Regions from separate parts of the Homo sapiens genome. Here region 1 is linked to region 2. Evidence: promoter capture Hi-C in human tissues and cell types (Jung and others, 2019). All regions are on one chromosome and are shown on one strand. The core of a region is centred on a gene start or on the middle of the fragment in contact, and the rest is flanking DNA. Distances in the headings are between cores, read along the strand shown.

Region 1 (3,174 bases), core at 316-2,815, 680 kb after region 2:
ACTAAGACATTCAGCCACTACAGACAAGCTCTGGCCAGGTACACCAGCAAAACTGCTCTGCAATTCAGTGGAATGGAACCATACCTTTTTTAATGAGTCCTGAACCCTAGCCTTGGGGAGGGGACCCCATTGCAAGTTTATCCTTTCTTGGGCAATCTCCTTCAGCCATAGGGTGATATATATTATATACATATGTAATGTACATGGGTATATATACCCTAATTTACTAGCCTGGGTAAAATATGGAGGATAAAAAGACTGTGGTTAACATAAATGCAATTTTCCATTAAGTTCTACTACATAGTGTAACCCACGGTTCTCTAGGTTTCACCAGCTCATCAAAACAAATGAGTTTTAAAAGCCACCCATCCACATGAAAGAGAACAAAGCAATATGTCAAGGGAAGATGTGCAATAAACCTCAGAATTACTGTCGCTGTACAAACACACTTCTGCCATGGGACATATATTGTTCTGAATCATGCCCACACCTAATCAACAAGACTTCTGCAAAAACTCTTGGCCGGGCGCGGTGGCTCACGCTTGTAATCCCAGCACTTTGGGAGGCCGAGGAGGGCGGATCACAAGGTCAGGAGATCAGACCACGATGAAACCCTGTCTCTACTAAAAATACAAAAAATTAGCTGGGCGTGGTGGCGGGTGCCTGTAGTCCCAGCTACTCGGAGAGGCTGAGGCAGGAGAATGGCATGAACCCGGGAGGCGGAGCTTGCAGTGAGCCGAGATCATGCCACTGCACTCCAGCCTGGGCAACAGAGACTCTGTCTCAAAAAAAAAACAAACAAAAAAAACTATTTTGTTCAAGTCTGTCTGGGTGTCCCTAGAGGGGGACTTGTGCTTATCAGCAAATCTTGTCCCACTGGGCCCCCTGATGCTCCACCTCTTCTCTCTGGACTCTGACGTTTCCAATGACGGATCAACCAATATCACCATCTCCCTTCCACTAACTGCCTCTCTTTTCCGTGTCTTGACATGAGGAGCTCCCAAGATGACAAAAGTACAGAATGTTCTGCAAAGTGGGAGGAGATGGAAAGAAACTGTCCTTCTCTTCTGTGTTATACATGGTTAGATTTTCCAAGGCAGTGCTACACATGACCCAACATCTCATAGAGTTTTAGGCAGACAGACACTGAGCAAGATTCAGAACTAGTATTCTCTTCCAATGACCAAGTATTCCTGGGTCAAACTCATTATGCAATGGCTTTCTCTTGCCGTAGGGTCACATTCTCATTCCCCATGCATGTCCACCCAAATTTATCAGCCATGCTCAAATTGCAATTTAGGTTTAAGTGGGGACCTCTACTATAATACAGAAAGCCGAGGCAATAATATAAATTGCTAAATACAATGTAGAAATGAGGAAACACTAGGATGTCAGCTCCATAAGAGTAAAGATTTTTTATCTGTTTTGTTCTTTGTAAAGCAACAGCTCCTAAAACACTGCCCTCAATAACCCTTGGCAGTTGAATGAATGAATTCTGGTTCCATATGGCAAACCATTCACAGAAACAAAAGCCTGCTGTCCTACCTACACATTGCAAAGGCAGCTTAGCCCAGGTGAATGGGGCAAAGAAACACTTTCACCAGGTCTGTCTACACAATTGGTTTTCCCGTCTTTTCTAACATCAGCCCAGCGAGTTCTCCTTGCCGGAGGCTTTGCTCATCTCAGTGAGCAGAGTAAGACCAGCTCCTCTCCTGCCCAGGCAGGGCTCGCTGCTGCCGCCTGCTGAAGCTTGTGCAACCTCCCTCAAAGTACTGATTCATAAGCCTTTTCATCGCAGACCTTTTGAGAAGCCAGTGAAAATCTCAGCTCTTTCCCAGAAAAAATAAATTGCACGATGCACAAACATACACTTTGTACACTATTTCAAGAGATTAAAGAGGTCCCTGGAGGCCCACCATATCACACTAATGGTAGAATTTGAAGCAAACCAATCTAAAAAACAGGGAATTGTTTTCTTTTTTGTTCGATTAAAGAAATGTTCCATATGCACCCAAAAAAAAAAAAAAAAAAAAAGAGAGAGAGAGAGAAATGTGTAATCAACCAGCATGGACCTAACAGCCATCAACATTCTGCCATTCTCATTTCATCCATTCCCCTCAACTTTTAAAATTTTTATTTATGATAGAATGTCTTACAACAAATCTAAGATAGCTTTTAATTTTATCTGTAAATACTACAATGTTTCCAACTTATCAGGACTTTTTTTTTAACATTACCATTGAACCATTATTGGACCCAACAAAATTAATAGGACTTCCTTAATGTCATCAGATAGCCAAGCTGTTTTATATTTCTCCTGATTATCTCAAAAATAACTTTTTTACAGTACTGTAGTTGGTTCAAATTTGGATCCAGGACCAGACATTGAATTAGGTTGATATATTTGCTAAGATAGGAATTAGTTTATACTGCGTGAGTGGAAACCACAAACTGGTTATTTTATGAAGGTGGAGGAAAGAGGGAAGGTGTGTGTTGGGGGAAGGATGGGGAGTAAGTTAATGAAAAGTATCAAAAAATTTGAAAATTGGGGACGTTTTAGAATTCTTATTTGATCTATTCATTTCATAAAAATGACATTGATGCAAGTTCAGTCTTGAGCCCAATGGCCAGATAAAACTATACCCAGGAGATCAGAGGGAACATTCCTCCTCTGAATCTGATTGTGGATAAATTGTATGTAGCTTACCTAGCATTTACATTTGATTTTATTCCCTTCCTCTTCTTTGGCTAGGATAAAGAATTATCAGCTAAGTTAAATAGAAGACCCAGAATTCTCAGATATAGTTCATCTTGTTCTGTGGGGACCATGCTAGACTTATTAGGATCCTATTCACCTTTTGATATAGTAAACCCAAATATAATGGGATTACCTGCTGTCTTCCTGGTGTATCCAGCGCTGATGACTACCATCAGATTTCTTCTCCACCAAAACCACCTCCATGCCTGATCGGAGATTGGGACCTTGAACCCCCAAGACTAGCTGAGGAGCAGCATGGCTTATAATCTGCCCATCTCTGTATTCGAACTGCTGATGACAATGCTTGTGCAATTTACTATGCTTTGGTGAACAGCTGAGATAAAGAAATCTCTATTAGTGGCAGAAAAATGTCCCATGCACTTGATCATGCACTTGATGTGCTGGAGATTATAAGT
Region 2 (3,185 bases), core at 499-2,998:
AAATTGTCTATATTCACTATGACTTATCTCCTCCAAATCACTTAAACACATACCAATCAGGTTTTTGTTTTCATCATTCCAAAGTAACTTTTACAGCCAAGGACAGTAGCGAACTTTACATCGCATATGCATTGTGAAGTTCTTGATCCTCATCTTACTTAACCTGTCAGCAGTATCTGACACAGGTGTCACTGGCTCCTCCCTGAGATGCTCTCTTTATTTGGCTTTTGGGACACCATATTCTCCCCATTCCTACTTTCCTCAATGGCCCTCCTCAGTCTCCTTTGGAAAGAGGAAAAAGAAACTTCATTATCTCCTGGATGTAGTACAAACAACTCAAGCTCAACATGTGCATACTGAACTCCATTTCCTTTTCCCAAACTTCGACATTTACAGCCATCCCCTTTCAGCTGATAGCAAGTTTATCCTTCCAGCTACTCAAACCAGAATCTTTAGAGCCATCCTTGACCCTTTTCCTCCTCTCACACTCAACATCTATCCATCAGAAAATTTTGTTGGTTCTACTTTCAAAATGCATACAGAGTCAGAGCATGTCTCATTACCTCCAATAGCTACCATACTAGTCTGAACAAACATCATTTCTCACCTGGGTTATTGAACAAACATCATTTCTCACCTGGGTTATTGATAGCATCCTAACGGGTCTTCCTGTTTCTTGGTTCCCCTATATTAGCAACACAGCAGTCAGAGGAGTCCTTTTAGAACTCAATCAGATCATGTCACGTCACTCCTCTACTTAAAATCCTTCAATGGGTCCCATTACACAAAGAGTACAAACCAGAGCCCTTACACTGGTCTACAAGTTCCAACATTTGACTCCTGTTATCTCTCTGACATCATATTCTAATATTACTGCTGTTGTCCTTTTGCTCCAGTCACACTGTTTGATTAGTAAATATTTATTAAACAAAGCAATCCTAGTCTCCAAAGAGATCATAGTTTATTGGAGGAAACAAGAGCCTATAAATGGTTACACACAGAAGGTAGTGATTATGGTTCTCCCTCACCTCCCATCCTAAACTTTGACAGGTGAAACTCCCCTGGATGTTGAAGGTTGAGGAATTTGCCAGGGTTCAGGGTGGTGTTGGAGGAGGCAGGGAGGAAGCAAGGACATTTCAGGCAGGAAGAACATTACATGCAAAGATCTAAAGATATGAATCAGCAACATATTTATGGAATTACAAGTAAAGTAGAAAGTTCTTGCTAAAACATCAAAAAATAAAGATTTGTGATTAGGGGGCCAGAATGTGGGAGGGAAAGAGAGATACAGTTCACACTTTAGACAGGAGCCAGATCATGAAATGTTTTCTCTTTGTTTGTTTCTTCCTTCACAGCTTTTGATATGCTCTTGGAGCAATTTATTAACCATATTTTTTAATGCATCTCCTGAACAGAGTCAAAGCAATACTTGGAAAGGACTCTGAATTTCCTGATTTAAAGATACAAAAGAAAAATCTGGAGTCACAATTAATTTGAGAAGGTAAAGGAGTGGGTGTGCTACTGTATCAAATTTAATTTGTACAAAATCATCATCTCTAGTAACATTATTTTTTCTAATCTACTGCGTTTAGACTACTTTAGTAAAGCTTGATCTCCCTGTCTATCTAAACACTGATTCACTTACAGCAAGCTTCAGGCTAGCATTGGTCATATTAATACCCAACAAATCCACAAGGTGTTAGTTGCACATGATTTTGTATAAAAGGTGAACTGAGATTTCATTCAGTCTACAGCTCTTGCCAGGCAAGGCAGCCGACCACAGGTGAGTCTTGGCATCTACCGTTTTCAAGTGGTGACAGCTACTTTTGAAATTACAGATTTGTCAGGACATGGAGGACAAAACTAGAGCTTCTCACTACTGTTGTGTAGGAAATTTATGCTTGTCAACCTGGCTTGTAAAATATGGTTAATATAACGTAATCACTGTTAGCAAGTAACTGACTTTATAGACCAATATGCCTCTCTTCTGAAATGGTCTTATTTTAAACAAATGTGAGCAAAAGAAAATATTTATGAGATTCTAAAAATGAAGACATAATTTTGTAGTATAGAATTTTCTTGGCCAGGAATGGTGGCTCATGCTTGTAATCCCAGCACTTTGGGAGGCCAAGGTCAGAGGATTGCTTGAGCCTGGAAGGTTGAAGATGCAGTGATTCATGATTATACCACTGCACTCCAGCCTGGGCAACAGAGCAAGACCCTGTCTCAAGAAAAGAAAAGAATTTTATTTTTCTTTTCAGACAAAAATAGACTTTAAAATAATAATGGAAGAACAAATATGATGATCACAATTATCAGAGTAATTACTTTATGACAGTCAGCAATAAGATTCTAATCTTTAAATATTCCTCTGCTTAAATCATTATATTGGAGTTTTGATCTATAATATATTCCCACCCTGACCCAAAAATTGAAGAAGGACAAGGAAAAATGTTGTTCCAAGAAACAAAGATGTAAGTAAAAAGGCATAAGGAAGGAAAAAAAACTTTTGAAGCAAAATGTGATTGAGGAGGATGAGCAGACCAATTATTTTTGGTTTGGTCAGCTTACATAATGATTATCGTTCTTTGGTTTCTCAGTTTCTAGTGGGCTTCATTGTTTGCTTCCCAGACCAGGATGAAGACACTCCAGTTTTTCTTCCTTTTCTGTTGCTGGAAAGCAATCTGCTGCAATAGCTGTGAGCTGACCAACATCACCATTGCAATAGAGAAAGAAGAATGTCGTTTCTGCATAAGCATCAACACCACTTGGTGTGCTGGCTACTGCTACACCAGGGTAGGTACCATGTTTTGCTGGAAGCAAGGGTGTTGAAGGTCTGTATTAGGCCGGTTTCATTAGTTTCTACTTTATCAATATTTTATGTATTCTAAGTAACAGCCATGAGTCCTTTAGCCAAGACTGTCTGTGTTGTGATTGGGGTTAATGACCACGATATCACTTAGATGTTTGGGCTTGGATTTGATTTGGGTAAATTTAGGAAAGCCTCAGATTTAATCTGATCAATTTGGTACTAGTCCAACTTTGCATCTACAGGGAAAAAGTATTTCTATGTTACGTTTTTACACATAGAGAGATAAACATGGAAACATACATATATTTAATCATAAAGGACCTATAATATTCTCATAAAGGCAATTTCTTTAACTGACACTACATCTTTGACA

Evidence for each region. Contacts are between HindIII fragments. The study calls those that stand out against the background at their distance.
Region 1: a fragment that was not itself captured here is called in contact with the fragment with the promoter of FSHB in region 2 in 1 of the 25 tissues and cell types used here (lymphoblastoid cells).

Annotation. Positions count from the first base shown.
Region 1 is chr11:30,912,620-30,915,793 of GRCh38, forward strand. DCDC1 (doublecortin domain containing 1) reads right to left here. Exons shown (of 39, transcript NM_001387274.1): 27 at 2,892-3,092. All of the region lies in intron 4 of LOC105376611 (a long non-coding RNA gene), which reads left to right. Among named protein-coding and RNA genes, the nearest start is that of LINC02859, 180 kb to the left of the region's middle. The HindIII fragment of the contact is 6,889 bases long and covers 1-3,174 here.
Region 2 is chr11:30,229,266-30,232,450 of GRCh38, forward strand. FSHB (follicle stimulating hormone subunit beta) reads left to right here and starts at 1,749. Exons shown (of 3, transcript NM_001382289.1): 1 at 1,749-1,783; 2 at 2,601-2,796. The coding sequence starts at 2,638. The region is part of intron 1 of ARL14EP-DT (ARL14EP divergent transcript); the gene reads right to left. The HindIII fragment of the contact is 20,904 bases long and covers 1-3,185 here.